4 separate regions of the Homo sapiens genome follow, and regions 2, 3 and 4 are each linked to region 1. The links are contacts of gene promoters, found by promoter capture Hi-C in blood cells and fetal thymus (Javierre and others, 2016). All regions are on one chromosome and are shown on one strand. The core of a region is centred on a gene start or on the middle of the fragment in contact, and the rest is flanking DNA. Distances in the headings are between cores, read along the strand shown. Region 1 holds the start of SEC23IP (SEC23 interacting protein). Region 2 overlaps CASC2 (cancer susceptibility 2). Region 3 overlaps FAM204A (family with sequence similarity 204 member A). Region 4 overlaps CACUL1 (CDK2 associated cullin domain 1).

Evidence for each region. Contacts are between HindIII fragments. The CHiCAGO score rates a contact against its expected background, and 5 or more counts as called.
Region 2: a fragment that was not itself captured here is called in contact with the fragment with the promoter of SEC23IP in region 1 in 1 of 17 cell types (neutrophils); the score reaches 5.7 in neutrophils.
Region 3: a fragment that was not itself captured here is called in contact with the fragment with the promoter of SEC23IP in region 1 in 1 of 17 cell types (naive CD8 T cells); the score reaches 5.1 in naive CD8 T cells.
Region 4: a contact is called between a fragment that was not itself captured here and the fragment with the promoter of SEC23IP in region 1, in 1 of 17 cell types (total B cells). The highest score is 8.2, in total B cells.

Annotation. Positions count from the first base shown.
Region 1 is chr10:119,889,101-119,894,379 of GRCh38, reverse strand. SEC23IP (SEC23 interacting protein) reads right to left here and starts at 1,650. Exons shown (of 19, transcript NM_007190.4): 1 at 1,435-1,650. The coding sequence starts at 1,597. RefSeq lists enhancers at 1,402-1,912, 1,913-2,423, 2,424-2,935, 4,736-5,274. The HindIII fragment of the contact is 6,362 bases long and covers 1-3,678 here.
Region 2 is chr10:118,050,331-118,055,609 of GRCh38, reverse strand. It overlaps CASC2 (cancer susceptibility 2), which reads right to left. Exons shown (of 4, transcript NR_026940.1): 3 at 3,414-3,479. Among named protein-coding and RNA genes, the nearest start is that of RAB11FIP2, 6.0 kb to the right of the region's middle. The HindIII fragment of the contact is 9,287 bases long and covers 1-5,279 here.
Region 3 is chr10:118,335,981-118,341,259 of GRCh38, reverse strand. FAM204A (family with sequence similarity 204 member A) reads left to right here. Exons shown (of 9, transcript NM_022063.3): 3 at 4,837-5,078. The coding sequence starts at 4,845. Among named protein-coding and RNA genes, the nearest start is that of FAM204A, 3.7 kb to the left of the region's middle. The HindIII fragment of the contact is 2,749 bases long and covers 1,635-4,383 here.
Region 4 is chr10:118,729,136-118,734,414 of GRCh38, reverse strand. CACUL1 (CDK2 associated cullin domain 1) reads left to right here. Exons shown (of 9, transcript NM_153810.5): 2 at 4,005-4,131; 3 at 5,018-5,120. Among named protein-coding and RNA genes, the nearest start is that of CACUL1, 23 kb to the left of the region's middle. The HindIII fragment of the contact is 1,696 bases long and covers 2,023-3,718 here.

The sequences.
Region 1 (5,279 bases), core at 401-2,900:
ACAGCTGTTCCCAGTGTGCCTGTCTTCGCTTCTCCATGAAACTGTCTTTCATCCTTCAAACAAGAATAAATTATTCACTGGAAACTCAGCATCCAAAGAGGATCTATGTACTAGGCCCTAAATAAGATCCTGGAGATAAAAAGGCAATTAGGTCATAGCTGCTGAAGAAGACTGCAGTCCAAATGGAGAGGCAGGTGTGTTTATTTCACAAACATTAAATCACACTGTCTGGCACGCACTATACTTAGCGCTTTGCAAAAATTAAAGCATTTCTAATTACAATTCTGTGAGGCTACACATACATAGAAACTGAAGCACAGAGAGGTAAAGTAAAATGCCTACAGTCACACAGCAAGTTACTGGCAGGGCAAGGACTGGAATACAGACAGTCTGTGCTCTTAAACACTATGCTCTGGGCAATGCTACATAATCATCAAAAAGCAATCTCCCTGGACAATAATACAAATATGAAAAAAGAGCTAGGAGTGCACATAGGAGTGGGGGCCTAAGAGAACAAGAAACAGCTTCTTGGAAGAAGTGATGTATTGTCTTGAAAGATGAGGAATGGGTGGGGGGTTAAACCTGTAATCCCAGCACTTTGGGAGGCCAGGGCAGGCGGATCACTTGAGGTCAGGAGATTGAGACCATCCTGGCCAACATGGTGGAACCCTGTCTCTACTACAAATACAAAAATTAGCCAGGCATGGTGGCAGACGCCTGTAGTCCCAGCTACTCGGGAGGCTGAGGCAGGAGAATCACTTGAACCTGGAAGGTGGAGGCTGCAGTGAGCCGAGATCGCGCCACTGCATTCCAGCCTGGGCGACAGAGCAAGACTCCGTCTCAAAAAAAAAAAAAAAAAAAAAAAGATAAGGAATGCATTGTATATGTCTACTTCACAAATATTACAGGCTTCTAGAAGAGGGGCACAGTCCATCTTATAAGATATCTTACTGTAACCTAGAAGATATTGTACTGTATCACAACAATCTCCTAGTAGGAGACAGTGTACCGTATCCTAGGAGAGGGGCACAGTCCATCCTAGGAGGTATCTTACCGTATCCTAGGAGTCTCCTAGTGGGAGACAGACTACTGTACCCTAGGAGAGGGCCACTGTTTAATTTATTTGCATTTCCTGCCAGCACCTGGCGTACCAACAACGGGTATTCAGCAAAGATTTGCGGAATGCCAGGGTACGAATGAATGTCCAGCACTCTGGACAACTCGGAACAGGGGGTTTCCGTGAAGAGCAAGTCTCATCACCTGCCACCTCCAAGATCCCAAAGCCCCCGACCCACTCAAACCTGGCCAGTAATGATCCTGGCAAGCTATCCAGAGGGTAGCTCGAGGCAGAAGGAAAAACTCCCGTCTGACCTTTGTCATTGCACGTCCCCCGCCCGCCTCCCACCACACACGGGGCCGCCCTCCCCTTATTACCTCCCGGTAAGAGCAGGGAGGCCGGAGAAGCGGAGGCCTGGGTGACTGGGATGAAGGGCACATTGAAGCTGAACTCCGTGGCCGAGGAGGAGAAAAGTAAGTTAGTGCCCGATGAGGAAGTGGAGGCGCCGCCGCTGCCACCGTTAGGTTTTCTCTCGGCCATGGCTGCGGCCCACCGTCCGATACACGTCTCCGGGTACCCGGTACCACACCACTGACCGGAAACCGATCACGCTCCTGGCCAGCGCACTTCCGCACTTGCGCACAGGAGCCGAAATTACGGGTAGCTAGTCAGCCGCCCTCTCCCTTCCCCTACACGGCGACGCCAGATATCAACATGGCGACACTGTCTTCACGCCCGCGTCTAGCACGTGACACCCTCGGAGGCGGAGGCCGGGCGGGAGGATGGGGACGTGGTCCCCGCAGGTTCTGGATAGACGTGCGAATTGAGACGCAATTGACCCTGAAAGTCACAGGTTGTGGCGGGTATCTATGGGCTTCCTAAAGGTACCGTCAGGATGGCTCTCCTGACAAAGATTTTGGAGGAACAGCGGAATCCTGCTGGACGCTACCGGAAGGAGGAAGGGAGGAAGAGCGTTGTGCGGGAATGGGAATTCGCATGCTAGGCGGAACCAAACACCCTCTCCAAAACCCACTTGTCTTTCTGGATGGAACCGAACATTGTGGTTGACCCAGAAATAGAAGTGGTAAAACATTTTTTAAGTGTTTAATCCATAGGGAGAAAAAAATATTTCGTTTTATTTTTGTTGTTTTTTGTTTTGCATTTGTTTTTTGTTTTTTTGGTTGGTTTTGTTTTTTGTTTTGAGACAAGTCTGCTGTGTCGCCCAGGCTGGAGTGCAGCGGTGCAGTCTGGGCTCATTGCAATCTCCGCCTCCCGGGTTCAAGCGATTCTCCTGCCTCAGCCTCCGAGTAGCTGGGACTACAGGCGTCCGCCACCACGCCTGGCTAATTTTTTGTATTTTTAGTAAAGACGAGGTTTCACCGGGTTGGCCAGGATGGTCTCAATCTCCTGACCTCGTGATCTGCCCGCCTTGGCCTCCCAAACTGCTGGGATTATAGGCATGAACCACCACGCCTGGCCAAAAAAAATATTTAAAAGAGAAATCAAACCAGACGCCATGGCGCAGGCCTGCAATCCCAGCACTTTGTGAGGCAGAGCGGGAGGATAGCTTGAGCCCAGAAGGTTGAGACCAACCTGGCCAACATGGTGAAACCCCGTCTCTACTAAAAATACAAAAATTAGCCGGGCTTGGTGGCATAGCACCTATATTGCCAGCTACTCAGGAGGCTGAGGCGGGAATATTGCTTGAGGCCAAATTAACCCTGATCTTGCCACTCACTGTGCAGCGAGACCCTGTCTCCTTAAAAAAAAAAAAAAGAAAAAAAAAGAAACCAGGGCATTGAAATTAGAGATCTGACATTTTAGATAGCTTTCTATATCCACAGTAAGCTGACTTACTTCAATCCAGGAGGTACTGTGGATAACTTGGACATAATTGTCATCTTTCATAGTTAGAGATTTTGAAGGAAAATATAACTTAAGCCATATTTCAGCTTCTTGGAGGTTGGGAGAGGAGATACCAAAAGAACGCTCAAAATAATGAAACTCTGCTCAGCTGTTTACACATATATAGAACCTAAGTTTATTAATTCAATAACGATTTCATGTGCTTACTGTCAAGAAAAATTTTTTAAGTGGGACACTCGTTAAAGCAGTAAATTAGATTTTATTTAATGAAAACTATTGCTAGGGAATTGGGTCCAGCATGAACTGAACACAACTTTGCTGAAACAAAAATTTGGAGGCTTTTTAGAGGCTGTGGTGTGCTAAGGGAAAGGTGCTGAGGAGTGTGAAGGGTTGGTTCGTCCTGCAACTAGGCCATCTGGGTGTGTTAATCCATGCTTATCCAGAGGAGACATAATTTTTCTGTCTTCATGACAAGCAGTGGTGTAAGAGAGCAAGGTAGCCACAGGGACTGGGAATGAGAATGAGAACCACCTCCTTGAAGGCTTGCAATTCAAGAGACAAACCCCCAGGTCCTTGAGAAGACAGTTCTCAGTGGTCATGTGTCCGGAGTTGGTTCCTTCCGGTGGGTTCTTGGCCTCACTGACTTCAAGAATGAAGCCGCGGACCTTTGTGGTGAGTGTTACAGCTCTTCAAGGTGGCACAGACCCAGAGTGAGCAGCAGCAAGATTTATTGTGAAGAGCGAAAGAACAAAGCTTCCGTAGCGTGGAAGGGGACCTGACTGGGTTGCTGCTGCTGGCTCGGGTGGCCAGCTTTTATTTATTTATTTGTCACTGCCCTCATCCTGCTGCTTGGTCCATTTTACAGAGCGCTGATTGGTCCATTGTAAAGAATGCTGATTGGTGCATTTACAATCCTTTAGCTAGACACAGAGTGTTGATTGGTGCATTTTTACAGAGTGCTGATTGGTGCATTTACAATCTTCTAGCTAGACACAGAGCACTGATTGGTGTGTTTTTACAGAGTGCTGATTGGTGCATTTACAGTCCTTCAGCTAGACACAGAGCACTGATTGGTGCATTTACAATCCTCTAGCTAGACAGAAAAGTTCTCCAAGTCCCTACTCAACCCAGGAAGTCTAGCTGGCTTCACCTCTCAATCCCCCCTCTAAAGAGGACACCCCAAGAGCTGTTGGGAATTGGGCAATGACCTCTGTAGCTACTTCCTGCTGGATGGGTTGAAGAAGGAGCCCTGCAGTTGTAGTGTCCTCCAGAGGGGAACTCTTTATGCCAGTCAAAGGGCCAGCGGGTTGGTGCAGGGGTCCTCAGTAGAAGTTGTTAGTTGAGCTCATTGGGGTTCCATTTGTAAGACCATCTGTAGCTTGATGGCCTCAATCCTAGAGGAAACAAATTTGACAAGGAGGTTAAAAATACAGGGCCCGAAGGTGAATAATAGCAAGATGGCCATCACAGGACCTAGAAAGGGGAAATGCCATATCGCCCAACTCCAGAGGTTGATATAAGAGTTTGAAAGGCGTTGTCTGATTTCAGAAGCCTTTTCCTGTAAACACCAGGCGGCACCTCATCCTATCCCTGACTGGTTAGTGTAAAAGCAACACTCTTCCCCTAAGAAGGTGCAAAGTCCTCCTTTCTCAGCAGTGAGGAGGTCTAGGCCTCGGTGGTTTTGGAGGGTCACTGCTGCCAAAGAGTCTATTTGGAATTGTAGAATAAGGATAGATTTTGTTATTTCTTGCAAACTGTCTGAGAAATCCTTTGAGAGTGTGTGGTAGTAGGATAATATATGTTACACTGTTAACTTTTAGCAAACTTTACTTTTGTTGAAAACCTTGTAAGTTTGGGATTTCAATTATTCTTTGTATTAATAAGACCTTGTTCAATCCATATTAACTTACAATTGGTATAGATGGCTTCTTCCTGATTCTGTGAGTACTTTAAGGTTTGGCTGAGTACTGATAGCTGGAGCACGTTTGAACAGACCAATTATTAGGCAATTTTCCTAACTCTGCTTCTACAAGAGTTTCCTTATCACTTACTGAATACTCATTGTGTCTTTCTCCCTTAATCGCTGGGGAGGAACCAGCTATAGTCCTGTCCTGAAGGGAGTTCCTCCTAGATCTGGTTGGACCTTTGTATGGTAATTAAGATTTAGATCCCCTGTTAGGAAACCTGCTGGGTTAAGGATTTTTGATAGGAAGGCTATGGGTTGTCAGTGGCCTCAGTGCTTTCGGGCTATGCCCTTGTTTACACTGACAACCAGGTGGTGTTGGAGTGTTACAGGGTCATGGAGAAGACCTTCAATTATCAATTATAGGTTTTAAATTTACTCTGGCTTTTAAAG
Region 2 (5,279 bases), core at 1,301-3,800, 1.8 Mb after region 1:
TTTCCCTGTTACTCAACATAATCTCTATTTTGATTCCCCTAGTTCTACTCTTGTCAAAATGTATCCAGAAAATGTCATATCTGCATAAATTCAGGTTTTTAAACTCAGGTAAAATTTCCATCTCCCTATCCTTCTCCCTGAGACCAAAACTAAGTTCTTAACGCTGGACTGAAATTGAGGCCCCAGGGAGAAGCCCAGGAAGGTCTATGGCTGTCAGCATTGACTCCTATTAGCAAGTCATATGAAGTAATAGGTGTAGGTCCTATCATGGCCAGTCCCTGGTTCTTTATCCATGTATATTCTGAATTTTCCCAATCCCGACCTGGAGGACCCTAGTTTATCAGCCCTCTCTCAGTCACTTTCTCACCTTTCAGGGGGAAATGAAATTTTTAGAGGTTCTCAGGTACCTCTCGGATGGAAGGAGGCTCAGGGAGTTGCCTGTAACAAGACCGTCTTGGCCTTGAGTCCCCCTGCTCTGCTATTCTACTGCTACTGTTGCTGCTCCAAGCCAATGTGGTGCATGGGATTAGGGAGCTCTAGGAGTTTGCTTACTTTCAAGGTCCTTCTTGAGAAACAAGATGCAAGTGACAATTACTTTTAGATGCCAAAATTTATCTGGATGGTCTATCATCCATTTGCCCAGCTCCCATGCTCAACAAGTGGGGAGGCGAGTGGAAAGGTCTTGGAGACATTCCACCTGTCCAACTATCTTGATCTTCTTTACAAGCTCCCTATTCTTCACTTCGTCCAGTGAAATCCTTGTATAGTGTAGGTCTTTCATTAATTGCATTCTTCCCCAATTTTTTCTTTACTGCATAAATTTTGGCTTTTGTTATATCTTCCCCTATTGTCTACTTTGAAATGGAAAAGCGGAGAAGTGACTCTGTTGCATGCCTTGGCCTCACTTCTCTGGAGCAGTTAGTCTAGCTCTCCTAGCTACTGCCTGAAACTAGGCGGAAGGTCATAAGGAGGCCAGCAATTACTAGGAATAAGAACAACATAAGTTATTATCAAGATATTATCAACCTTGCAACCACATGAGCTTGTTAAGGCATGTTTTTCCAAGAAGGCACTAGGTTTGCCATTGCACAATACATTTAAATTTAGTCTGTTTTATTAATACAGTATATTGTCCTGTAATAATCAATTTGACTCATCACATAATTTATCTGCATATATTTATCTTCTTAACTATCAAATTTTTATTTATCCTTCACATGTTCCTTAGCTTATAAAGTTGAGTTGGATTTAACATAATTTGAATGATGGTAAATTAGAATTCTCTTGCTTTTAAATGTTCCACTGTTATTTTAAGCAACCTTTGATGCTAGAAGAAAAAAGTGTGCATGCTAATAGGTATACATTTAATAGATACAAGACTAAAACCATAATAAAATTTCATATTTGTAAAATTCTTTACAGTTTACAGAACGATTCTACGTGCATTATTGTGTTTTATTCTCTAGCAAGTGTCTACTGTAGGTTGAGTTAGTGTGTAAGTCCTGATCTCCCGAATGAAAACTCAACATTTTTCCACAAGGAACAGACTATTAGCATTTTGACATTTGGTTATGAAGGCAGAAGAGTTCAGTGATATCCTAGGTCACCCTTTGTCCGTGCATAAAGTTTATTACTATATTTCAATTTCTCTGCAGTTTATGGAGGCCAAACACCACAGTATATGTTGCTGCTCATCGAGTATGTCATGCGGCACAAAATAGATCAATTATCTTTTGCTTGTCTCTGAGCTTTCACTGAAGCGGTGTTAGGACCTGGCATCATGTCAAGGATGCTCTGATAATGCTTAAAGCCAACTGAAGTACAAGAGTTGTCCAAAGGATATGAAGGATCTGTTTCTCAAGTGTCCTGATGTGAACAATGCCTAAAGAGAGTTCTCCCACAACCTCATCTCCTTTGTAACAGGATAGGAAAAAAAGTGGTAATGTGTGTATTGGCTGTTGCTTTATCTCTTTCAAATTAAATGAGATTGAGATGTTAATGAATGCAGTGTAAGGCATGTCATCAGCAAATGTCAGCTATTATTATTATTAAAATTGAGATAACAGAGTTAACATTAGAGTAGCAAATGGAAGTTAGAAAATATTGGTTAGCACCAAGGTGATAATATTGGGAGGCAGGGCCCCTGGCAGAGCCCTCTTGACTGGGATTAGCACTTTTATAAAAGAGACCCCAGAGAGCTGGCTCATTCCTTCTACCCTTGAGGACACAGTGCAAAGACTGTCATCTAGGAGGAAGAGGGCCCTCACTAGACAACCATTCTGCTGGTACTTTGGTCTTTGACTTCCCATCTCCAGACTTGTGAGAAATACATTTCTGTTGGAAGGAAGGAAGGAAGGAAGGAAGGAAAAGGAGGAGAAGGAGAAGGAGAAGAAGGAGGAGAAGGAGAAGAAGGGGAAGGGGAAGGGGAAGGGAAGGGAGGGGAAAGGGGAAAAGGGGAGGGGAAAGGAGGAGAGGGAGAGGAAAGGGAAGGAGAGTATGGATACACTGGTTAGCAGAATGTTTGTTGTAAGATTCACAGGACGTTATATTTTTGTTTTTAAATTTATCATAATTCTCTCTGAAGTGAAAATCTAGAATATTAAAATACTACCTGGTACATGATCTACTACATAAATTTCCAATTTTGCTACGTATAGGTATATAATGTAAGGAGTTATTTTTCTTCAACTCAAGGATCTGATTCATTTTTATAAAGTTGTTAAAATGATACCTAGAAAGTCATTATTGAATTTTAAAAGAAGGTTTGAAATACTATTAAGGGCTTATTCTATGTTACTTTTGTTTAGAAAAAGAGTATCCAATAACATTGAGTTTGGCTTGAAACAAAAATAACTCAGGGTCTCCATTGCTGGGTTACAGGGGCACCTGCCACAGCTCAGGATCCTTAATTATTTGGTGAGGAACAGTCCAGACCAATTGCTGTGTAGCCTTTGCCTTCAGATAGGAGGAAAGTAAGTACTTGGAAAAGAAGGGACACATCATCAAGCCAACAGCAACAAGCATCTTTTGAGCACTTCCTATGTGTCAGGCCCTCTCTGTACTTTTACCTGATTCCCCTATTTAATCTTCCCAACAACCCACTTTGCAGATGAGGAAACCTAAATTTGGAAGGTTTACACAATTTGCCCAAGGTCACACTGTTATTAGTGCCCGGGGACAAAAATCTACCACAGGGTGAATACTCAACAGTGTTCAGTGTCTCCATCCAAGGAACTTTGCAGCAAATCTTGTTTCAGAAAGCGTTACAAGCCCTTGATTCCTGAGGTGCCTAATTCAGAAGACTTCACTTTTACAAAGCTAGCTTGCTCAATTTTTTTTTCCAATGTCCAAGTGTAGACAGAAAGGAAAATGAAGACCATCAAAATTATAAAGGTGATCTGGGCAAAACCTACCTTAGAAATTCATGCAACACACTTCTTACTCGGAATAGGGTTCTTTGAAAAACTTCCTTAATTTTCCTGTGTTAAAAGAACATAGTTATGGGCACAAATTGCACAATCCATATACCTTCTCATCTTGCATAAACTTGATAAAAAAAACAGTAAAATGCATTTTCTCATTGATTTGAATCTATTGGGAAGCCATTCTGGATAACCCAAGATCCAAGTTTGGAGAGAGAAGAAATGTAAAATTCACTGTTTTCTGGAAGAGGACTTTAAGTTGCTCAAGGTCATATACAACATTAGTTTTTTAAGCCAGAAGATTTCTGTCCACTATACTACATAATTCCTGAAATGAGGTATCTCCTTTAGGTATACATTGCTAAGCAACATCTTATGCTCAGTTTTGGCTGTACAGATCAGCCATGATCATTCCAATAACCAGAAAATGATTATAATACATACTGGCAACAACCTATAGGTGCACTGAAGGTGACCTAACCCAGAATGTGTAAAAGATAAGCATACAGTTCTAAGCCCAAAGTGCTTTTATGATCAGATATCCAGATGGACTAAAACATTGTTCAGGTCAGTTGAAAGTTGCTTTAGGAGAAATGTTTAAAATCTGGCCCTGGAACAAGAAGAGTTGGATCTATCCTTCAAAATGTCATTTTCCCCCAGGCTTTATATCAAACACACAAAATATAACAAATAAAACAAAACACAACAAAAGCCCTTTACTTTTTTTAACATAGATCAAATAAGTAGAAAGGCAGAGAACAGTCGATCTCACATGGGGGAAAAAACCACCACCACAAAATGTTTTTGCCATCCGCCCACCGGTTTAATGCTCTCTAAATGAATGTATTTCCAGAAATATTATCCCAGAAATTTTATGGATTCCAGGCCGTCCTAGAAATATTATAATTTGAATACCCCGTTCTTTGTTTAAAAAATATCCCTGTCTTGGATTTTAATTGAACATAAAAAATTTAGCAGATGTTTACAAAGTACAAATATGATAAGTTTATATAACTCTGCTAATCATTGCCTTCAGGAATAATCAAAACTCTCCAGCCCTTATTAACCCGCACCTAAATCTGTAGAAGCAGCAATGTTCTGGAAGATTTCAGAAAGACTCATGATGATGAGACAATTGAAATTTGAAGACAAATACCAAAGTAGTCACAAAATCTTCTTCCAATAGCAATAATCTCTGCTTCTCAGTAAATATAACAAAAGGAGTTTGAGAATTCTGGATTTGGAAGGAGTCCCTGAGGCACAGACAGAATATGGCTTGCCAGGTCTATAACTCCTTAGTTTGTAGAACCAGGATTAGAATTCAAGTCTAATACTCAGGCCCATGGGTGTTCCATACTCTCATTCACAAACTCCCAATAATTTCATCATCAATTACCAAAACAAATCCCTGCATATGTGCATAGGAGATATATAGATGTTTATGCAGCATTGTTTATGATAATTGAAAAAGTGGAAATAACTTAAATGTCCTTTGGAAGGAGAAAAGATCAAATGGGGCTTATTCATCTCACCCAATGCCATATACCAGTTAAAGTTAATCAATTCGTGTTCTATGCATTAATATGCATTTTGTTGTAGGAATAAAAATTATACAATGGAATACTATGATACTATGAAAAGGAAATTGAAAGATGTTCCCATACAAAACCTTCTTATATGCAAATGTGTATTTTGCTCCGTAAATTCTTACCAATCTCAGCATATTTTCACAGTTCAAAAAAGCTACAAATAATACAGATAGAAGTTATAAACTTATTACTACAATTAAAAAGTTCAAGGCTGCTCAAAACCACTTGCACATACATGCAATTTCTTCCAAATCTTGAGCTGTTGGTG
Region 3 (5,279 bases), core at 1,760-4,259, 1.6 Mb after region 1:
AATAAGACAGCCTTATACGATGAAAATGGAATTTAAATTCTGGAATAGAGATGGAAAACATTTACCCATCGAGCTGCTCAAATATATCTTTTGGGTTTTGATTATAAGCAGCTGTCTGGTTGTCCAGAAAATATGACATTATTACTCAAACCTCTGACTGTGACTTTGACTTTGATGTATGCAACTTAGTATAGCATCTTGCATAGCTTTCTGTACTCAAAAAGTACAGAAAAAAATTCTTAACCAAATTTAACAAGTCTGTAATTATAGGCTAAGATCATTCTCAGCCCCAGTCGCAAATCCTTGTCCCCGCTTACAACTCTGCTCTGTAAAATTCATAATCTAAAGCCATGGGGCTATTTTTGTAAAACAAATGGATCAGAATGCATTAGGCAAGTCAGTTATCCCATCTGTAAATTGGGGGCGGGGCGGGTAGGGGAGGGGCTGATATAGATAGTAATTCCTAGTGGAAGGGTTGTTGTGAAGATTAGTGGAAAACCAAGGCCTGCCACACTGTTTGTATGCCATGTGCAGCAGTGACTTGCTTTGTTTCCCCTTTCTGGTTCTAGTGTTTCCTGTTGTAACTAGGGTTCCTTCCCCTTCTCAGTGTCCTGAAGTGTACAGAGTTTCTCTGAAAACATCCTCTTGGCTGAGTTGCTAGGTAGAGGAGAGAAACCTTATCTACTGGATACTGGGCTCTAATCAGGATTGCAGTGCTAGAGAGAATGGAGTGATACATCCAGGAGTGAGGTGACTCTGGGCATTTAGGGCACTTATAATATCAAAATCATAAAGAGGCATTTTAGAGCTGTAAGACATCTCAGAGATCATTTGATCAAACCTTTATTTTATAGCTTAAGAATGGAGGCCCAGACAAATGCAGTGGCTTTCTCCTAATTATGTTGCTCAGGACTAGAAACCATTTTCCAACTTTGAAGACTTTTTCCCCCTGTAACCAGTGCACAATCTAGAACGGTTTTTATTATAATTTGATTTCTCCCTGGCTGCTTTATTTTGAAAGATTGTGTCTACTCAACCTTATTTATGAATGTTTTTTTCTGATAAAAATCAGACCTATAACTACCAGTGAACCTCTGATTAACATGTGAAAAATAGTGCTTCACTAAATTGGTCTTTTCCTGTAATGATGAATGGTACAGTCTTACTGAGGGGAAAAATAAAATAGTTTGGGCTTTTTGAAATTAGCTTAGAGACTCCTGTTACTATATTCATACTTAGATTAGGAACCACTGAACTGTACCCTGTTTTTGATTCATTGTTATCTGACCAAGTATGCTAAATAATAACGATGGGTGGTTTTCAAGGGCAAACAAACAAACAAACAAGAAACCCTAGTTATTCAGACTAGGACAGTATATAAATATTTTCAGTTCATGGCAAATTGTGTTAGCCCAGGACTAAAGATGTGTTCTGCATAGTACACACAGAATGTCTTGAGGATAATTGTGGGATGGAATAAATCTTAACTCTAGAGGTGGAGGGTGTGTAAAATGAAGAAAGTGATATTCAAAACCATAGAGAGAAAAAGGATTCTGAGTCATTTACATTTTCCTTGGGGCTAAAATGATTAAATTGAAAATTATTTGGGTTGCAGGGTAAAAAAAATGAAAGCTTATGAATTAATACATTGGCTGTTATATGGACTTGGCTATAATCTATGCTAAACAAATTTAAGTTTCTGTTTCTCTGATATTCCACGTTTCTGGAGACAGGCTGAGTGAATTTTCACAGTTAAAGGGTAACTTGGGATTATCTGCCTTAAAATAAAGAAATACGCTCTGAAAGGCATAAGTAAGAGACACTTATAGAGAATCATTCTCCACAGCAGCCAAAACAAGAATAACAGGAGGCCTAACATGGTGCCAGTTGGAAACTTTGTGAATGACAAGTATATGCTATGAATAGAAAGACTGTTTTGAAACATGAGTCCAAAGCAAAAGTCACTAAGCAGCCACTCCATATTGGCTGATCTGTAACTGGGCTGCTGCTTACACGGGCAACTCCATTTTGCAGGCTGCACAGTAAGTGGCAGCAGTTATCCGTGTTTATCAGTGACTGCTCAGTCTCCCTTGTATTTGTTTTTTTGAGAGTCACAGGAAAATGGCACATGACTAAAGGTTCTAAAGAGTGGAATTCAAAACCTACCTGATTTGAATTTTGCCTGGATTTAGAGGTGGATTCCACCTTTTTCAAACTATTTTAATTTTTTTTCCTTTGGGTACACTCAAGAAATTATCATACCAGGCAGATGCCACACTGAGGACAGTTTTTAATGCCACATGAGCAGGAGCTAAAAATATATAATTTTGAGAAAATTTAAAAAGCCATAAAAAATGCCTAACTACTTGAAGGCTGATTAGCAACAACAACAGCAAAAAGCATGCCTTCTTCGGGGCAACTGAGACTGCTTCCCAGAGGGAAGCATGTTTGGGTGCCCAGAGCATAGACTATCACCCTGCAGAGATGCTAAAACAGTGGTTTAGTAGGAGACCTGTGCCACTGCCCATTGGAGAGGCATACACGTTTCATGAGCAGTCACATCTAAAGTCCAGGTCAAGGAATACTTGGCTCAAAAACTGAGCAGAAACTTGCTATGTGTATAGCTGTCATTTCGTGAGGCTAGGGATTTTTGCCTGTTTTATATACTTCTGTCCCCAGGGTCTTGAAGAGTGTCTGGCACATAAGTGGGCATGTAAAATATTTTATGGACAGGAAGGGAAAGAGTTATTTCTAACATAGACTCCAGTGATGCTAAGAAATCCAAACCTGAAATTTGTTACTGTTTTAAGTCCTTAAATGATAATGAGCCTAAAGGTATATTATATGGCGGTGGCCAAGTCATACTGGAACTTATTACTGCTTCCTTCCCCTTGCTCTCAGAACAGGAGAAATCTTTTTTATTAATAGCATGACACCTGTTTTTCAATATTGGCATATTTTACATGATGTCTTTTGTGCTATTGGAGTATTTCAAGAGTACTGCTGTCCCAACTTTAAAAATCCACAGACAGGTTTAGGGATAGATCTGGGTTTTATGGGGCCTGGAGCTTATATAACTTCGGGTTTCTTCCTTTAAACAAAGAAATGTAAATTCTGAATAGAAAACTAGGTACAGTGCTTTGGAAGGACCTGTGCAGATGAGGAATCTTGGAGCTTAAGGTTACCATTATCTTCCTAGTAATTTGCCCTCATTTTATTCCTCCATTCAGAAAACCAAACACTAACATTTGTTATAGACACTTCACATCAGATTGTGACTATCAAGGAAGCAAATGATTGCATCAGTTGCTAAGTGAGTGCACCACAATTATTAGAAACTTCAAAACTATCTTATGAACCCTGTCACTCATAATAGAAATGATAAAAATGTAATACATGGCCACAGAAATAATAATAGCAAAGAGAACTTAACATTTATTGAGCCCCTAGGACCTCCTAAACACTGTGTTGAGGGGCTTATCTCATTTAATCCTCAGAATAGCCCTATAAGCAGTATAATTATCCCTGCATTACAGATAAAGAAATTGAGGGTCAGAGATGTCAAATGATTTCCTCATACTACTAGTAGTGTCAGAGTTAAGATTCTAGTTGGAGCAGTTAGATGCCAGAGTCCTTCCTCATAAAAAGCCAACAGAATATTTGGTGAGGATATTTCAGAGAGCCAGCAACTGATGAGGCTGGACCAAAGCCACAAAAAGTAAGATCTGATTCTTTGGACCTGGAAGGAGGTCTTTAAAAGATAAGAGAAATCTGTTATCACAAAATCCCTGATGTGTTTGTCTCAGAGAGAATGGTGGTTTCTTTTGTTTGTTTGTTTGTTTTTTAACTAGGTTAATCACAATATGGGACAGAAAACTGCAAAACAAATTTCCGTCCTTCCATTTTATTCCTTCATATTGATAGTAAATCATGAGCAGTACAACCGGCTTCTCTATTTTAAGCATCTTTTGAAGGAACTGGTTTTGGCTCAATATATGTGCTAAAATAGACTGTGCCATGAAGATCAATAGTGAGTATGTACTTGAGTATTATACTTTTAGCAAATGATAACAATTCTGCTATTTTAAGTCATTTTATTAAACTTAATGGTTCTCTCTACTAATGGACTGTATAGCTAATGCTAAATATTATCTTGAACTTGACCATTAGTTTCCCAAATATAGTATTGTTACTTTAAAAAGCTGTACATTTTTGTTAAATTGTTAGGATTATATTTCATTTAATATTATTTTAGCAAACAGTATTAAACTAAAAAGTAGGATATCCTTTTTACTACGATACCTTCCTCCAACTACTTATGTAGCTTAAAAATTTTCCTTTAGTTATTTTCCTGCTCCTTAGACAAGACGCCCTCTGAAAGCTTTGTCCATTAAATATAGGTGAAACATGCAGTTTTATTCTCTAATTGGTATAGCTTCAAATATGGTATTTTAATCCTAAATTGCTTGCAAAGTATGTTGTTAGGTTTTTAACATTCTTGAGCAATGCTTTACTGAATTTCATGTTTTTTTTAGACAAAACTACTCATATATTAGAGAATCAAGGCTCTATTTTCTTTACCTGTAGGTGTATGTTGTAACAAACTTGTTTAAACAGCTTTTAAACTTCTAAACTTTTTTTTTACTTACACAAGTGAAGATTTTAATTATTTTATAACAGGTTCATTCTATGCCATTTTAGATTAAAAAAAAAAAGTTTAGATGGACTGTTCCCAAACCATTGTTATAATTATTAGGCACCTGGAATGTCTTCTAATGGTCTTAAAATTATTTCTATGGTTATTCTACATGTGTAAATTAATCTTTTTCCTCATAGAAGAAAAGATGTGGAGTGGGCTGCTACCTCCTGGCCTAAATGAAAGTGACGCTGAGTCAAACTCGGAAGATGAAGCTACGTTGGAGAACTCTGGACTTAACTTACAGGAAGATAAAGAGGATGAGAGCATCAGAAAAACAGAAATCATAGATTTCTCAACAGATGAACCAAAAACTGAAACAGAGTCAAATGTAAATGCCTATGAAGAGTGTCCTTCTGGAATTCCCATAGATATGTGGAATGTAGGTTTTCTCTGAAATGCTCTTGCTACAGCCTGTGTGTGTGCACATGCCTCTGTGTGTCTCTGCCCTGGTCAGAATGTGCATGTATTCTTGGGACTTAACAGGGAGGGAGATGGACTCAGAATGCTTTTACTGTTCTCTGAGGCATCGGCCACTTAGATACTTGCGTTTATTTTGTTTTGTTTTTCATAGAAAGACGGA
Region 4 (5,279 bases), core at 1,621-4,120, 1.2 Mb after region 1:
ATTACATACAGAAAAGGAATTTAGTTAATTATCTAAAAAGTAAAATTCAAGGAATTCTTTACCTCATTGGAAGTCTGTATATACTCTTTAGCCACGTATAATATACATTGAAAAGACTGGCACAGTACACTGGCACAGCCGCAATATACTGGTGGTGAAATTATGAGTGATTTTTATTTCCTCCTTTTGCTTATGTATTTTCTAATGCAGGCTTCATACTGAACTGTAGAAATCAAGAAATAAAAAGTTGAAAAGTATTGTCTAAATAGGCAGCCTTGCAGATCTCCTAAGATCCTGTCATGCTGCTCTGATCTTAGCATTCTCATTTTAAAGTAGTAAATCAGCTATCTTCTACACATAGCATGAATTTTGGCTACTCTTTTGTGTTTTGTTTTGTTTTTGAGACAGTCTTGCTTTGTTGTCCAGACTGGAGTACAGGGTTATGAACATGGCTCACTGCAACCTTGACCTTTGGGCTTGAAAGATCCTCCTGCCTCAGCCTCCCGAGTAGCTGAGACCACAGGTGTGCATCACCACGCTCGGCTAATTTTTTTTTTTAAGTTTTTGTAGAGGTAAGGTCTTACCATGTTTCCCAGTGTAGTCTTGAACTTCTGGGCTCAGGCGGTGCTCTCGCCTCGGTCTCCCAAAGTGCTGGGATTACAGGCATGAGCCAGTGCGCCTGGCCTACTTTTTCTTTTGGTGAGTGTAAGCTTTTCTATGGGCAAAGTTGAAAGTGATTACATATCTCTTAACAAGAGGATCTAGTTTTTAAGTTCAAGATTACACACACACTCTGAGGCTATATGTGTCAGATGTTAAACTGAACAAATAGCTAGGAGTTTTTGTTTTTTAAACCAAGGATTGCGTTGAGATAAGCAAGTAAATAACAAATATCTTGAAGTTTCCTGGATTGTCATTTTAAGTGTTGACTGCAGATGGTTATGAAGAACCTTCCTGGGAAGAAAGTTATGTTAGCTAGCATATAAGGTTACTGAATTGGCTTTCTATTTACTATTCAGGTAACATAGATGTATATTGTATATAATAAATAATACGTGTGGAAATAGAAACTGCTTTTTTTTTTGTGTGTGGAAATAGGGTTTAAGATTCTCTACTGTGACACATGCCTTTTTCAATTTGGTTTTTAAGTCTCTTTTCAAAGATATTTAAAAGCATCAGCAGTCACTGTTTCTGTAGTGAGTCCCCATTCTGTACTTAGAACTGCAGGACTTTACATTTTGGTTTCTTTTTCCTCTTCTTCATATCTTTGACTTGGTGATTTGCTAAAGTGCGAAGCCTGTGCTTGAGAAGTAGGAGTGCTCCCAGCTGGAGCCATAGCATGTGGTTTATTGAACTAAGCATTTTAGGAGCCCAGAAGATAGGTATGTTAATTACTGGTGTTACTACTTGCAGTTTTCTTTTTGAGCGTGTTATCTAACCTTCAACTCTCAACTTTCGGTGTAGAGAGGTATTTCATGTGGTTTAGGTGGTACACTGATAAGGGATTCTGTAACTCAGAATCACACAGTGAGAATGTAATTTCTTTTTCAGTTTTCTTTGAATCCTAAGGATTACATAAATACAAAGGTCATATTCTAGAGCCTAGTGTGTAACACTTTTCAGTATCAAGAGCAAGACGGTGACCCTGGGAAGCAGCTCTAGGGGGATTGGGGAAGTGAGGCAGGGAAGGTAAGGAAGCCAGTAAGGTAAAGTCACCACTGTAGGCAGCTGGAGCTTAGTACCAGTGGGGAGCTCTGGGAGTCAGTATAGCACAGGGGCCTTAGAGTCGCCTCACCCAAAAGGAGAGGGAGCTACTGGTGGTAATGACACTGAATCCTCAGTAGTCATTGGTTGAAGGCTGCTTTGGGGTTAATTCTCCCACAATTTCTTACCTGCTCCTCCCGCAAGCAGAGCAAGCTCTGGCAGCTGGACAGAACATTGAGAGAAGTAGTCGTAGGGTGTGGATGGGGTAAATGGGTGGGGCACCAACAGTATCTGCTATGCCCGCTGGACAGCTAAGCTTTTCGTGCAGTCTTCCTCATTTTAGTAAACGACAACCCCATCCTTCGGTGCTGAAGCCAAAAACTTTGGAGCCACTCGACCTTTCTTTCACATCTCACATCTAATCTATCAGCAAATCTTGTTGACTCTGTTTTTAAAATATCTTCAAAATCTGATCTCTCCTTATTGTCCTCAGTGCCACCATCTGGCCCAACCCCATATCAGCTCACAGCCTCCAAACTTAGTTTACCCTCAGCACAGCTGCTGGAATGATCCATATAAAACCTAAGCCAGATCATGTCACTCCTCTGCTCAAAACCCTCCAGAGAGGCTTCCACCTTAGAGTAAAAGTCAAAGTCTTTACAATGGCCCATAAGGACCTACATGTCTGGCCTCTTCCTACTGTTATGTTTGCGCACGTGCATGTACGGTTCTTTTTGTCTTTAGCTTTACATTAGTCAAAACACTCCTTTATTCCCCATTCCATTCAGTGTGGGTTATGTGATTCATTTGTAATTCGGTTCATTTTTTGTGTTTTGCATTTCATCTTTACCACTACAGCCTTGTTGATTTTTTAAATTTACATAGTAATTTGATGTACAGTTCTTTTGGTCTTGACAAATGCGTGAAGTGGTGTATCCCCCACCATAGTTTCATGCAAAACAGTTAATTGCCATAAAAATTCCTCCATGCTACTGCTTTATAGATAATCCTTCTCCCCACCTTCCAGCCCCTGTCGACCACTGATCTGTTTTCCTCCCTATAGTTTTGCCTTTATTAGTATCATGTAAATGGGACTCTTAGAATATGTAGCCCTTTGGGTCTGGCTTCTTTCACTTAGCAAAATGGATTTAAGATTATGCCATGTTGTTTTGTGAACATTCCTCAGTAGTTCATTCCTCAGATGTCCTGTAAAATAAAATTAAATAACAGAAGTGGATTGATTTAAAGAAAGTATTGAACAAAAATGATATAGATGGTACATAGAAAAAAATCTTGAACCTGGATGACTAAGGTGTGGAAATCGATAATGTGATAAAAAGATACTGGGAAGGCTTTGCTTTACCTGGTATCTCTGACAGTAATGAGCCTTGAGTTCTTGAGGAAGTCACTTAACCACTCTGCTTCCTAGTCTGGTAAAATAAACAGTGAAATACCTGGTCTCGTTGTTGTTACTCCTGAGGTAACTGTGATTCATGACACAGAATATAGGCAGGTTCTTCTGGTAGCTCTTTTTTTAATATTAACATTTCAGTGCCGTGAAGCAACTGTTACCTGGATTTCAAAGCTGTTAGGATCCACTGTACAAATGCTTTGTGGAAACCTGTAGTGTGGGAGTAAGAGCCTGTCTGTAGGAATGAAGTAAGCCTCAGCGCAGGGTCCCAGTTCACTGACTTCTTTTCTGTTGGGCTTATCCAGTTTAAGATAGTAGCAGCCTGAGTTGGAGCTGTAGTAATGATGAAGAGGTGCTGGTGTTGTTGTAAATCTCGGCAAGTTTTACAGCAACCTCTTTGTGATTGCAGCATTTGGACCTTAATCCTCATAGTCCTGTCCTTAGGCACATTTCCTCGAGGATGTCTACAAAGATTGATTGTTGGTGTTCACGATTTCTCCAAATTTTCCTGTGGTTCATTGATAGGCCATTTTGTCACATAATTGGCAGTGTGTATTTGAGGGTCAGAGCATGTTTGAGACTGCTCCACTAATGACAGAAGCTTACAGGAAACCCAGAAGGAAGCCAGTGATGATTGCTTGTTTGGTTGTTATTTTTAAAGATGGACAGGTTCATACTAACTTCTCTTAAATCCATGATTAATGGCTGCTTAACATCCTTGACCAGGTTGCCTTTTTTGTTTTTAATTGAAATAGGATAGTTAGGTGATAGAGTGTCAGTGTAAAATCAGAAGAGTAAGTGAGAGGAATTTGAGAGTGCAAAATGGCTGTGATTTGTGTTTGCTCCACATGTGGCACGTAGTAATATTTATTTTACTTTTTACTTTTAGTAATGAATGTTATAACTATTGAAGATTATAAGAGCACATACTGGCCAAAATTGGATGGTGCCATAGATCAACTTTTAACTCAGAGTCCTGGTGACTATATCCCCATATCCTATGAACAGATATACAGGTAAGTTAAGATTTAATTTGCTTGGGTTTGAAAGGGTATACTAAGGTTCAAGGCACTTGAATTATGCCTCACACAAACATGTAATGTAGAATGCATAAGATGAGGCTCTGTAAGTGTTTTATGTATTCCACACTTACGGATTGGAGGGTTTGGTTTATACTTTTTGATTCAAAAGTGGTTTTCAGATCATGACAGAGGAAGCCTGCCACCTCCACCATACATAATGCAGACACTGTGGAAGTCAGCAATAAAAGCAAGAATGACTGAAGTATCTGGTGTAAAAATCATATTTTTAGTCTCAGAGGGAGACCTTAATCTGTTGGTGTTTATTGACACACAATTCTAACTCTCTTTGGTTATTTTGTTTCTCAGCTCCTGTTAATGGAAGCAGCAAATTAGGAAGTGGGGTGGGATATGAGATCAGCACAGTGAAAGGAGGAAGTGACAAGTATGTTGTTCCACACAGCTGATGTACAAAGAGGTTGTATTGCAAACACTTCCGTGAGTTAGAAACCTCTCTCTACTGATTATCAACCACTCTCTCTTCCTTATTTTGACATTCATTTAAAAAGAGAGAGAGAACCTGGTTTATAAATAGTTATCATATTCAGACCTTAGATTCTCACCTACTATTAGATTCTCTAGTACTGATTAAATGTGTAATACACTACTTAGAAGGGCATATTTATAGCAGATGGTACTATCTTTTCCATCCGAACACCGATGGGGGAGGATAAAGTTTTTATTTAAAAGTTGTGATTGGTTACTTTTTGAAGGTATGAATTATTGGATCAGTGGTTATATATCAAAAGTGTGCTTTAACCTTGGACTGAGTTAAGTGCTTTATGATTAACTTGGTTTGTGGGGGTTTTTGTTTGTTTTACAGTTGTGTGTATAAATGTGTATGCCAGCAGCACTCGGAACAGATGTATAGTGATCTGATTAAAAAGATAACTAATCACTTAGAGAGAGTCTCAAAGGAGCTGCAGGTAAAGAACTGATTGTATTGATTTTTGCTTCCTTGGGTTTTCCTGACTGGTTGCAGTTAGCTTTTCTAATACACATTTGGAAGCTTGTTAATTTGATTATGATATAAATTTATAAATGTTTTCTAGGTGAATGTTGATCAAATCATGTAATTTTTGGAA